2 separate regions of the Homo sapiens genome follow, and region 1 is linked to region 2. The links are contacts of gene promoters, found by promoter capture Hi-C in blood cells and fetal thymus (Javierre and others, 2016). All regions are on one chromosome and are shown on one strand. Each heading gives the region's core, a stretch centred on a gene start or on the middle of the fragment in contact. The rest is flanking DNA. Distances are from core to core; before and after follow the strand shown. Region 1 overlaps OSBP2 (oxysterol binding protein 2). Region 2 holds the start of MORC2-AS1 (MORC2 antisense RNA 1).

Region 1 (6,418 bases), core at 2,087-4,586, 150 kb before region 2:
GCAATTTTCCTGCCTCGGCCTCCCAAAGTGCTGGATTACAGGTGTGAGACACCCGGCCCTCCCCCATTTTTATTTTTTATTTTTATTTATTTATTTTTGAAATGGAGTCTTGCTCTGTTGCCCAGGCTGGAGTGCAGTGGTACGATCTCAGCTCACTGCAACCTCCACCTCCCGGGTTCAGACGATTCTCCTGCCTCAGCCTCCCCAGTAGCTGGGATTACAGGCTTGTGCCACCATGCCTGGCTAATTTTTGTGTTTTTAGTAGAGATGGGTTTCACCATGTTGTCCAGGCTGGTCTTGAACTCCTGACCTCAAGTGATCTGCCCACCTCCGCCTCCCAAACTGCTAGAATTACAGGCGTGAGCAACCACTCCCTACCTTCCCCCATTTTTATAATAAACATTCTACACAGGGCTCCTGCCAGCCCTCCAAGCTTCTCACTTTGAGAAGCACAGTCCGCTCTGTCAGACTCCCTGGATTGCTTATTGCTGCTATCTCTCTTCCCCCATCTCCAAATTCCATGTTTTTCTTGGAGGGAGGTTTAATTCAGCTTTACTCCACATATTTATTTAATGTGCTGGATCCAGGAAGACAAAAGTGATGGTGTAGGGCCTTATTGTTCATCAAGTGCATTGTATCTGAGTTTTTGGCCCCTGCCTTCTAGGCCTAGGTGCAGCCCCTCTCTCTACCTAAGAAAACCACTTCTGTCTATATCAGGAGTGCTATACCCTTTCTTCATCAGAGACTTTCTCTTCATGGTTCTCACCCCAACTGAGAAAATGGAATATAAGCGTGAATTATTGGTCATTAAAACTGATAGTGGAGCCAGGCATGGCAGTTCATGCCTGTAATCCCAGCATTTTGGGAGGCTGTAGTGGGAGGATCGCTTGAGGCCAGGAGTGGAGAGCAGCCTGGGCAACATATCAAGACCCCATCTTTCAAAAAAAGTAATAATAGTAACTGGGTGTGGTAGCACACACCTATAGTCCTACCTACTCAAGAGACTGAGGTGGGGCGATCACTTGAGCCCAGGAGGTCAAGGCTTCAGTGAACTATGATCATGCCTGGGTGACAGAGCAAGACCCTTTCTCTAAAAACAAAAACAAAAAACTGGTAGTAGTGAAGGGTATGGCTCATGGAAGGGACTAGTTTCTGTTTCTCTGGTGGCCTGGAATGAACATTGAATGGTACCTGGCGGGACAGCCATGCCTCCTTGATCTCTCAGCAGCTCAAGGTGCAAATTCCTTCCTCCCTGGCTATGACTTTAGGCTTTCCCAATAATACCACACAGCTTTTTGAACAAATAAACATATCTAGGCTAGTTCATAGGGTTTTTAGTTGTCGTCTTGCCTCTGTGCTCTTGAAGTTTTGAGCCCTTTGCATTTGGCAGTGTCCAGGCATTCAGGCCTGGAGCCCGTGTAGTGCCAGTGCCTCCCTCCACGCTCTTGGCCTGGTTGACCTCACCTAAACCCTCCAAAAAGCAGATGGTCAGACTCTCTTCCCTTCAAACTCTTCTCTGCCCTGACTCACACCTGGGCCATTTCATCCAGTGAGACTGAGGGAGGAGCGAGGGAGTCCATGTTTCCCCTCCATGACGCCGGGACAGGAAGCTAGACTCAGTCTCTTCCATATGGCCAGGAAGGGGAGTACCTGACTGCCCATCTTGGTTTTGGGAGAGAGAAAAACCAGTGCTCAGTCTGGGAAATGAGGTTTTGGGGGATTGTGATAAAATAGAGGACAGGACTCTGCAGGTCAAGGACAGAGGTGCATCCTGAGGGCGCACTGCAGTCAGGGCCAAGTGGCTCACTCTTTGCAGCTTTAGCAGCACCTTGGATATAGTTGCTGCTCCGTAAACGTGTTGATTGACAGAGGTGCAGGTAAAAACCTCAGAACAGTTGGGCTTAAGGATGCTACAAAAAAAGCTCTGGGATGGGATTTAATTTTTTTTTTTTTTAACTGTTGTTATCAGCCTGGCCAACACGGTGAAATCCCATCTCTACTAAAAATACAAAAAAAAAAAAAAAAAAAAAATTAGCCGGGCGTTGTGGCACGCACCTGAAATCCCAGGCACTCTGGAGGCTGAGCCAGGAGAATTGCTTGAGCCTGGGAGGCAAAGGTTTCAGTGAGCTAAGGTCACGCCACTGCACTCCAGCCTGGGCAACAGAGCAAGACTTTCTCTCTCTTAAAAAAAAAAAATGTTGTTATACAAAATAAACAGAAGTGAACAGAAGACTCTCAGGAATCGTCACATACCTGTCACCCAGATGCCACAGTTACCAGCTACCAGCTCATGGCCAGCCTTGTCTCTATGCCTCCATCCTCTTCCTCTGTCTCTATCATTTTGAAGCCCATTGCAGAGGTCATAGCATCCCATTTGTTAACATGTCTGGATGTATCTTTAAAAGATCAGAATTCCTTTTTTTTTTTTTTTAACATAACCAAAGTGCTATGATCATATCTAACAAATTAACAGTGGGTTGGAATGAAGTTTATTTAAAGGAGCCAGTCCTCTCCCTGTCTTAGAGAGTTTGCAGGAAGTAGAAAAGGGAATGCAGAGGGCTGAGAAAGGGGCCGCACATGTGCTTCCAGCAGCCAAGCTGGGCTCTGTTCAGTTCAGAGAAACCAAAGAGAGGTTAACAGCTCTCAGTTGGGAGAGGATCCGGGCCCTTCTCAAGGAAGGAGGGCTGGGCGTTGGCAAGATGTGTCTTCTGACCCTTGGCCTCATCACGGGCCCTGCAGGGTAAAGGGTGAGGGGCGTGGGTTGGGGAGTTGCTAGTGAGAGCACAGTCAGTTCCCAGGTATCCACATTAGGAGAAGAAGGAGCCACCAGAAAGTAGCATAGGAAAATGATGGTCTTATTCTTTAGGAGGTGTGAACAATTTGGATTTAGATGTGACCCTATGACCCATACAGATGGCTGCGGCTTACCCCTGAGAGACCTGTATAAATCAGTGCTAACTGAAAGAGGCCCAGGGTGAATGGGTCACTCGTGAGTTTGAATGCATGTGCAGAGCTCAAAGGAGATTGGTGTTCAGTTCTCAGAGAAACTGAGTTGGATTTTCACCCTGGGGGTGACAGCATTTGTTCTGAGCCCCTCCTCATGGGACTTTAGCCTGCCACCCAAGCCCAGGAGCCAGCCCAGAAGTGGCCACCTTATTTCAGTAGAGAAGTAGGCGTTATGTAATACGCCTCTGGGGGTGGGGGTTCTTCTTATGAAGAGGTCAGAGCATAACAAAAGTGGTTGTCTAGTTTAAAACATTCCTGTGGCCAGGCATGGTGGCTCATACCTATAATCCTAGCACTTTGGGAGGCCGAGGCGGGCAGATCACCTGAGGTCAGGAGTTTGAGACCAGCCTGATCAACATGGCGAAACCCCGTCTCTACTAAAACTATAAAAGTTATCTGGGCATGGTGGCATATGCCTGTAGTCCCACCTACTCGGGAGGCTGAGGCAGGAGAATCGCTTGAACCCGGGAGGCCCAGATTGCAGTGAGCCAAGATCACACCATTGCACTCCAGCCTGGGGGACAAGAGCGAGAAACTCCATCTCAAAAAAAAAAACAAAAACAAAAACCAAGAGCATTATTGCCATTAAGGTAGTTTAAGCATCATTTTCCTGCTAGGGCAATTACCTTGATTGCTAATTGTTTCCTTTGTAACTAGAGGGCATAATAGCACTTTCGTTTGTAATTATCAGATTGGAGTTTATTCTTTGTTACTGTTTAGGTGTTAACCTTCACGTGGATCTGTAGGCATGAGCACCGGACTCTGATGCAGGCAAGGCTGTCAACTCAGGATGTCACTAATCCAGAGGTGGAGGGCCCCGGGGTCCAGACCGGATGCCTGACCTAAACCTGAGGCTGGCAGGACTGTGACGTTTCCCTGGGGTACCCCCTGCATTTCAGTTTGCCAGTTTGAGCTTTGACTGGAGATGGTCATGGAAAGGTTGAGGCTGAGTATTCTGGGCTACGGAACTAGAAAGCTGGGCTCTGAGGGGGCCCCTCGGTCAGTTTGCTGAATCACAGTACCATGCCTGGTGGTATGAACAAGTATGGCTTAATAAAAGGGACACAAAATTTGGGATTCTGGCGTTGCTGTTGAGTCACTGTGTGAACTTTGGACAAGGCCCTCTCCCTCTCTAAGCTCCAATTTCTTTGCCCATCACAGGGACAAATAATGTCTACATAAAGAGATGGTTGTGAGGGTAAATAACAACAACAATAATACTTTTTAAATTAGGCTGGGCACAGTGGCTCACATCTGTATTCCCAGCACTTTCGGAGGCTAAGAAGAGCAGATCACTGAGGTCAGGAGTTTGAGACCAGCCTGGCCAACATGGCAAAACCCGGTCTCTACTAAAAATACAAAAATTAGCTGGGTGTGGTGGCACGCACCTGTAGTCCCAGCTACTCGGGAGGCTGAGGCAGGAGAATCACTTGAACCTGGGAGGCAGAGGTTGCAGTGAGCGGAGATTGCGCCACTACATTCCAGCCTGGGAAACAGAGAGAGACTCCATCTCAAAAACAAAAAAAATGTTAAATTAAATTAAATAATACAAAACAGTCTAGGTGAGAGGGAAGCACGTGGAACAGCTTCCAAATGCCAGTCGTCATCACTACCATTCCAGGCTCTTCAGCTCAGGTCCTTAGTTGACAACAGATCTGTGTGTGATGGTCTCATGCATGTGGGATGTCTTCTACCCACACTGGATATACCTCCATAGACAGTGATATGGTTTGGCTGTGTCTCACCCAAATCTCACCTTGAATTGTAATAATTGCCACGTGTTGAGGGTGGGGCCAGGTGGAGATAATTGAATCATGGGGTGGTTTCCCCCATACTGTTCTCATGGTAGTGAATAAGTCTCACAAGATCTGATGGTTTATAAAGGGGAGTTCCCCTGCACGTGCTCTCTTGCCTGCTGCCATGTACGATGTGAATTTGTTCCTCATTAACCTTCCCCCATGATTTTTTTTTTTTTTTTTTTTGAGATGGAGTCTCGCTCTGTTGCCCAGGCTGGAGTACAGTGGTGCAATCTCAGCTCACTGCAACCTCCGCCTCCCAGGTTCAAGCAATTCTCATGCCTTAGCCTCCTGAGTAGCTGGGATTACAGGTGTGTGCCACCATGCCTGGCTAATTTTTGTATTTTTAGTAGAGACAGGGTTCACCATGTTGGCCAGGCTGACGAACTCCTGACCTCAAGTGATCTGCCCATCTCGGCCTCCCAAAGTGCTGGGATTACTGGCATGAGACACCGGGCTGGCTGCCTTCCACCATGATTGTGAGGCCTCCACAGCCATGTGGAACTGTGAGTCCATTAAACTTCTTGCCTTTATAAATTACCCAGTCTCAGGTGTCTCCTTATTAGCAAGATGAGAATAGACTAATACATACAGGGATCTGTTTTACTAATTAGTTTTTTAAAAATTATTTTTTCATGGTTTTCTATCCAGGGTCAACTGGTGGCAGGGAACAAAACCCCGCTGAGACTGGCTGAAACACAAGTGGGGCCTGTGCTCAGGGTGCAGGAAGTGGAGCATCCAAGGGGAGAGGTGTGTCCACAGCTGCTCTCTCTGACACCCCCATTTCTGGTTCTCTCCCGGTGTCCCCTCTGTGTCCTTTCCCTCTGTAGCCTGGTTTCTTTGTTCCTCCATAATTTCGTTCTGTAGGTGGGCCTGGCCTGCCCTGGCTCTTGCCTGGCTTTGTGGCTGCCATCTCTGGCTCCAGCTTCAAATTCTTAGGTAAGAGGCTCTGGCACAGCTCAGAGCAGGTACCCTGCCCTGGCCCGATCCAGCATGGTCATTGCGGCTGCTTGAGTCATCTCGGCTCATTGCAACTTGCCGCCTTCCAGGTTCAAGCGATTCTCCTGCCTCAGCTTCCCAAGTCAAAGCAGGGCAAGGTCATGCCTGAGGGGCCACCAAAGTATATATAGCGAGGAAGCCTTAAATCCTGTCCCCGTTGCTGGCTCTTCCTGAGACTTGGTCTCTTCCAAGAAGCCTTCCATGACCACCTCTAGTCCTCTCCCTGCCATCGGCAGGAGGGCAGGCAAAAGTCGTTTGGGCTCCATGTCCACTGAGGCTGCCCCCTTACCTGTGTCTAGCCCAGGCCAAGGAACCATGGTGGGCTCAGACCCTCCTCTGGAGGGAGGCCAGGCTGACAGGCAGGCATGACAACCATAGATTGTGGAAGAGAAACTTTGGAAGACAAGGCAAGTTGCTGAGGGCACAGGCAGGAATCATAGAAGCTTCCAGAGGCTCCAGAGGGGCAACCTGGGGTGCTGGGGAGGGCCTGATGAGCACAGGAAGGGCTGAGTCCAGTGGAGGCTGGCTCTTGGCAGCACAGTGGCGGCCCCTGCCCATGTATGGCACACCTGAACACAGTGGCACCTGCAGCCCAAGGCTTCCATGTGGTTCCAGAG
Region 2 (6,070 bases), core at 1,936-4,435:
GATGATCTGTCACTGTCTCCCATCACCCACAGATGAGACCATCTAGCTCCAGGAAAACAAGCTCAGGCTCCCACTGATTCTACATTATGGTGAGTTGTATAATTATTTCATTATATATTACAATGTAATAATAACAGAAATAAAGTGCACAATAAATGTAATGCGTTTGAATCATCCCAAAAACCATCCCCCACCCCAGTTCATGGAGAAACTGTCTTCCATGAAACCAGTCCCTGGTACCAAAAATGTTGGGGACAGCTGTCCCAGGGAGAAAGTCCTGCACACATGCAACAGGAGACATAAACAATGCACAGTTGCCAGTCTCAGAGGAATGCATTTAAAATTGTATTATGTTCAATTGCAGGTGTAATTCATTCATTTTCATTACTGTCTAGTATTCGGCAGTGATGTAGCAACCCAAATAACAAAGAGGCTCTCTAAAAGAAAAGACATATATACATAAATTTGCAATGCTTTGTTCCTAAATAAGTATATTTTCTTTTGAGAACCTCTCTTTATTGTTATTTAGGTTAACATCCAGAATACTATACAGTAGTGAAAATGAATAAATTACAGTTACATCCAACAACATGGATGATTTTCTGGAACACAATGTTGAAAATAAAAAAAAAGAAAACCGCAAAACAATAAAACGTTATGTCCATCTAAGTTCAAAAACAAAGCAAAATAAAACACTTAGGGCAAAATAAAACAGGAATACACAGAGCTCATAAAAATATAATGAAGAGTAAAGAAACATAATTATAAAATGAAATACTAAGAGTAATAAACACAATTCAGGATGATGGTGACCTCTGAGCAGGGAGACAAGGGGTCCAGGAAAGACACACAGGGATTTATAATATAACAAGCCAGGTGATGGGTGTTTGATGTATACTTTTTCTGCTTTATAATTTTTTTTTTTTTAAAGACAGTTTCTCACTCTGTCACCCAGGCTAGAGTACAGTGGCACGATCATAGCTCATTGCAGCCTCCACCTCCCGGGCTCAAGCGATTCTCCCACCTCGGCCTCAGCACAAACCCAGCTAATTTTTGTATTTAATGTGGAGATGGCGTCTTGCTATGTTGCCCAGGCTGGTCTCCAACTCCTGGGCTCAAGCAATCTGCCCACCTTGGCCTCCCAAAGTGTTGGAATTACAGGCGTGAGCCACCGCTTCAGGCCTCCTTTACAAATATTTTATACAGCATTCTTTCATAGCTACTCAATGTCTAATTGAAAATAAAAACAGCAGCATAAAGGAGAAAACTCTATGTTTTTTTTTTTTTTATAGAAGGTGTAAAGGCATTTGACAAAATTCAGCCAGTTTCCAGGGGGCACAGCCCACGTTTCATTCTGTGTGACTGCTGCCCCCTGGCGCCCAACTCAGGCAGGACTGGCAACTACCGGTGAGTCCCAGCAGCCGCAAGACAAACTAAAGGAAACCCCAACATTTTAAAAGCCACTTGCCGAAACTCTCACCGCTCAACTCTCACATGCGGATTTCCACGCATATCAGAAACAGCCCGGGATCATTATTCAACATTGTTTCAGAGGTTCTAACTAAAGCAAACTGACAAAATAAATTGGTATACTGGCAAATTTGTATCTATAAAAAACAGGCTTATTAAAACTACCAGAATTCCTAAGACAGAAAGTGAATTATATTAAATCATTAGCTTTTCTACATATTAATAATCAATGAGTAATACAGATGGAAAAAAGTATTCCATCACAATAGACAAAAACCATAAAACACTTAGGAATAATTTTAACCAGAAAGTTATAGAACCCGTATAAAGAATTTATAAAATCTTATTGGAGGACCTAAAAGAAGTCTTGAGTAAATGGAAAGCCATTTTTTATCCTCTGGGGGAGGATTAATATCACAAAAATGTCAATGCTCCCAAAACTTCCATTTAAATTTAATGCAATTATAATTTAAATCCCAATGGAACACTTTCTTTTAGGCAGGGATGGGAACGAACTGGATAATGCGATTAAATATTTCATGTGAGAGAATACATTCTAAGACTGGAAAAGCATTTTTTAACAAGTGAGGGAGACTGATCTATTTAGATGCTGATGACGCCCAAAATTATAGTTTCAGCCAGAACCTCACCCCTCACATCAGACTCACTTGTGCAACTGACCACAGATGTCTCCACTGGCGTCTAAGCGGGATCTCAAACTCAACAGGTCCACACCTGTTGGCTCATTTAGTAAGAGGCTCATTTAATAAGTGGGGCTGGAATAAGTTAATTTCCACCTGGGGGCGGGAGACGCTTGACTCTTGCCTTACAGCTTATACTAAAATATATTCCATAAGGACTATAGGTTGTCTAGTAAAAAATAAATAATAAACATTGCAACAAAATGTAAGAGAATATCGGGGGAAGGGGAGAAGAGAGAAGGGGATTGATTTCCCTAAGCATGATAGGAATCCCCAAAACTTTAAAACATTTACCTTTCAACAAACACCATAAACCAAGCCAAGGACAAACGCATAGAAAACGGACTAATGTTAACTAAGTCCAAGAGGCTTCAGGCGCTTGGCCTCGGGTCAAAAGGGAGACATACAGGCTGGCTCTTCCGGGCAAGAGGAAAAACACGCAGCTTCCTTTCCAAGTGTTCTTCCTTTCAGAGATAAAAGCGCCGACCCTAAGGACATCTGTTCAACGAATGTTTTTCCCTAATGACCCCCGGAAAGTTGGAAAGCCGGGGTAGAAAAGATTTCTTCTGCACTTTGACTTAATTAATGCGCAGCAGCTTGCAGGAAAAAAAAAAAATCCTCGCTTCTCTGTTTCGGGTGTGAGTGGGCCATTGCTCTCCCTGTAAGGAGCTACTAGAGACGCTGAGGCAGGAGAATCGCTTGAACCCTGGAGGCGGAGGTTGCAGTGAGGCGAGATGGCGCCACTGCACTCCAGCCTGGGCGACAGAGCGAAACTGTCTCAAAAAAAAAAAAAAAAAAAAAGTAGGGGATTAGAGCTGGCCACGGCTTCCCCAGAAACCTGCAGTTACTGGAGTAGGAAGAGGCCTCGGAGAATCCCTGGAAGCATCTACCTAAAAGACGCGAGGAAACCCCCAAAGGCCACAGGCACCTGCACCAAACCCTGAGTGCCGCAGGAAGCTCGCGAGGCTTCCAAAGCGCATGCGCAGGTCACGGTACGGGCACGTGCGGCGCGCCAGCAAAACCACGCAGGCGTCTTGTCGCTTCCGCCTCGAGCGTGTGGCGGGATTGCGGAAGCCCTCCACAGTTCATAACCGTTGGCTGGTTATGAACCGTTCATAACGGGCGTTAATAACCATACCCTGTTAGACTAAGCATGGTCCACCCGCGAATCCTCTACAGAGATGGCCAAGCGCTGGGGTCGTGGCTGCGTCCTCTAGGCCAGGTGAGAATTTACAACCCACCCTCGGCCACTGTTGTGCTGTGGCCGCTGATGATTAAGCATGAGGAACTCAGAAACTCTGAACCTTCTGACAAACGGGTTCTCCCCTGCCCACCGCGGTGCCCCAAACCCAGCAGGACAGATTGGTTTACATGGTGGGGCATTGGGGAGGACCCAGAGCTTTCAATAAGGGAAGAAATGATGTGGGGAGGGACAGTAAATCAAAGTAGGGGATTAGGCCGGGCGCTGTGGCTCACGTCTGTAATCCCAGCCCTTTGGGAGGCTGAGGCAGATGGATCTCTCGAGACTGGGAGTTCTAGACCAGCCTGGCCAACATGGCGAAACCCCATCTCTACTAAAAATACGAAAATTAGCCGGGCGTGGTGGCGCGCGCCTGTAATTCCAGCTACTAGAGAGGCTGAGGCAGGAGAATCGCTTGAACCCTGGAGGCAGAGGTTGCAATGAGGCAAGATGGCGCCACTGCACTCCAGCCTGGGCTACAGAGCGAGACTGTCTCAAAAAAAAAAAAAAAAAAAAGTAGGGGATTAGAGCTGGCCACAGCTTCCCCAGTAACCTGCAGTTACTGGAGCAGGAAGGGGCCTCGGAGAATCCCTGGAAGCATCTCAACAGAATCCAGAGGGGACAAGAAAAGAGGAGGGATACGTCTGTCGCATCCTTCCCTTCTCATTGATCCAAGTTTGCACTAGTGGTGTGAGCCCTCCTTATCTTCCAGGCCTTGGTGGGCAGCTGTTGACATGTCCAGAACCCCAGGAAGTGCTGAAGGTACCTGCAGTTCAGGCCCCATGGAAGCCCAGACCTCCTTCACCCTTCGGGGACACTGAAATTGGCCAAATGTTTAGGCCATGAGGATGGCTGCTGAGTAAGCCCATAATCCCTACATCGGACACAAGTAAGCAGGTGAAGGCCTACAGGTAGCAGGTAGGGGCCAGTGAATCTTGGAAGCAAAGATTTGGGGGTCAAGAACAGCAGGGAGCTCTGGGCCCCCATCCTAGCTTCAACCAGAGCAGCTCCAGGACTCCTGGCTTTCCATATGGGCTTCTGGATAAATTTTAGGTACTCCTGAGGCTGAATAAGCTGGAAAGCCTCTGCCATCACCCAACTCCGTTATTTTAGAGGAGGAACAGGAGCCAAAATGGGCAGTGACTTGTCTGAGGCCTTGCCAGCTTGAAGAAGGAAATGTCCGCTGAACCCAACAGTGGCCCTGGTAAGGCCTGGTGCATTGCAAGTTACCGGATGAAAATGGTGACTGGCCGGGTGCAGTGGCTCATGCCTGTAATCCCAGCCAAGGCGGGCAAATCACTTGAGATCAGGAGTTTGAGACCAGCCTGGCCAACATGGTGAAACCCTGTCTTTACCAAAAAATACAAAAATTAGCTGGGCATGGTGGCACGCACCTGTAGTCCCAGCTACTTGGGAGGCTGAGAGGGGAGAATCGCTGGAACCCAGGAGGTGAAGGTTGCAATGAGCCGAGACTGTGCCACTGCACTCCAGCCTGGGTGACAGAGCAAGAGTCCGTCACAAAACAAACAAAAACAGAAACAACCCCAAATGTCCGTAAGTAGGAGACAATATATCCAACACATGAAATGCTCTGTGGTTCATGAGAATAAAGAAGACCCATATGGGTTATTCTGAAGCAGGTTCCACTACACTAAGCTGCACTAAGTAGTTTTAACAGGCAGAAATGGAACAGAGTGGAAGTGCGTGCACTTAGGAGGGATACTCTCCAGGGAGAATTCAGGGATTGGGTGGGAGAAGGGAGCCTTGCTTTTCATGGTCCAGCCTTTTAGACGGTTTTAATGTTTACCATGTGCATGTTTCACTTAAAAACCAAACACCCTAGGTGAGGCATGGTGGCTCACACTGTAATCCCAGCACTCTGGGAGGCCGAGGCAGGTGGATCACTTGAGCTCAGGAGTTTGAGACCATCCTAAGCAACATGACGAAACTCTACCAAAAATACAAAAAAAATTCGCCAGGCATGATGGTGTGTGCCTGTGGTTCCAGCTACCTGGGAGGCTAAGGTGGGAGATCACTTGAGCCTGGAAGGCAGATGTATCAGTGAGCCAAGATCGTGCCACTGCACTCCAGCCTAGGTGACCAGGGCGAGACCCCCATCTCAAACAAAACACCCTAGAGTCCCCACCCCTCTCGTTCTTTAAACACCAGCATTGCTGCCCTTCACTTTCTTGCAGCCTTGTGCAAAGGACCTTCTCACCACAGATCAGCCAGACCATCTTCCTCCTTCCAAGTCATCAAAGAGTTCCAAGCTGGTCACCTGTCCCTTGATGTTCCCAGGAAACCAGGAAAGAGGACCCCTGCATTTTATCTTCCCATCCAGAGTGGCAGGATCTCTGCCTGGGAAACAGGCTTCATTCAGCACAGCTGTGGTAGCATTAACAAAGCAAAGTGGGCACATGTAGAAGTTGAAGCTAAAACATTCAAGAACTCCAGTCTGTTTCTGTGGATGTTAAGGGGGTGAAGATAAAACAATGGAGGTGATGAGGAGGAATAACTTGAAGACAGTTTAAAGCCACAGTGATACAAAGAATGAAGAGAAGGAAGGTGCTGGATTTTACTAAGAAAACAGACTGAGTTCAGGAGTCTCACCAGTAGAACTTTATAGTATTGCGTTTCGATTACATGTGTGTGAATTTTA

Evidence for each region. The method cuts DNA at HindIII sites, captures the fragments that hold promoters and counts their contacts. A CHiCAGO score of 5 or more calls a contact.
Region 1: a contact is called between a fragment that was not itself captured here and the fragment with the promoter of MORC2-AS1 in region 2, in 1 of 17 cell types (endothelial precursors). The highest score is 5.0, in endothelial precursors.

The regions. Positions count from the first base shown.
Region 1 is chr22:30,765,130-30,771,547 of GRCh38, forward strand. All of the region lies in intron 2 of OSBP2 (oxysterol binding protein 2), which reads left to right. Among named protein-coding and RNA genes, the nearest start is that of MIR3200, 37 kb to the left of the region's middle. The HindIII fragment of the contact is 5,811 bases long and covers 432-6,242 here.
Region 2 is chr22:30,919,123-30,925,192 of GRCh38, forward strand. MORC2-AS1 (MORC2 antisense RNA 1) reads left to right here and starts at 3,186. Exons shown (of 2, transcript NR_026920.1): 1 at 3,186-3,393; 2 at 5,607-6,070. It overlaps LOC107985544 (a long non-coding RNA gene), which reads right to left and starts at 2,657. Exons shown (of 3, transcript NR_146603.1): 1 at 2,466-2,657. It overlaps MORC2 (MORC family CW-type zinc finger 2), which reads right to left. Exons shown (of 26, transcript NM_001303256.3): 26 at 6,008-6,070. The HindIII fragment of the contact is 12,308 bases long and covers 1-6,070 here.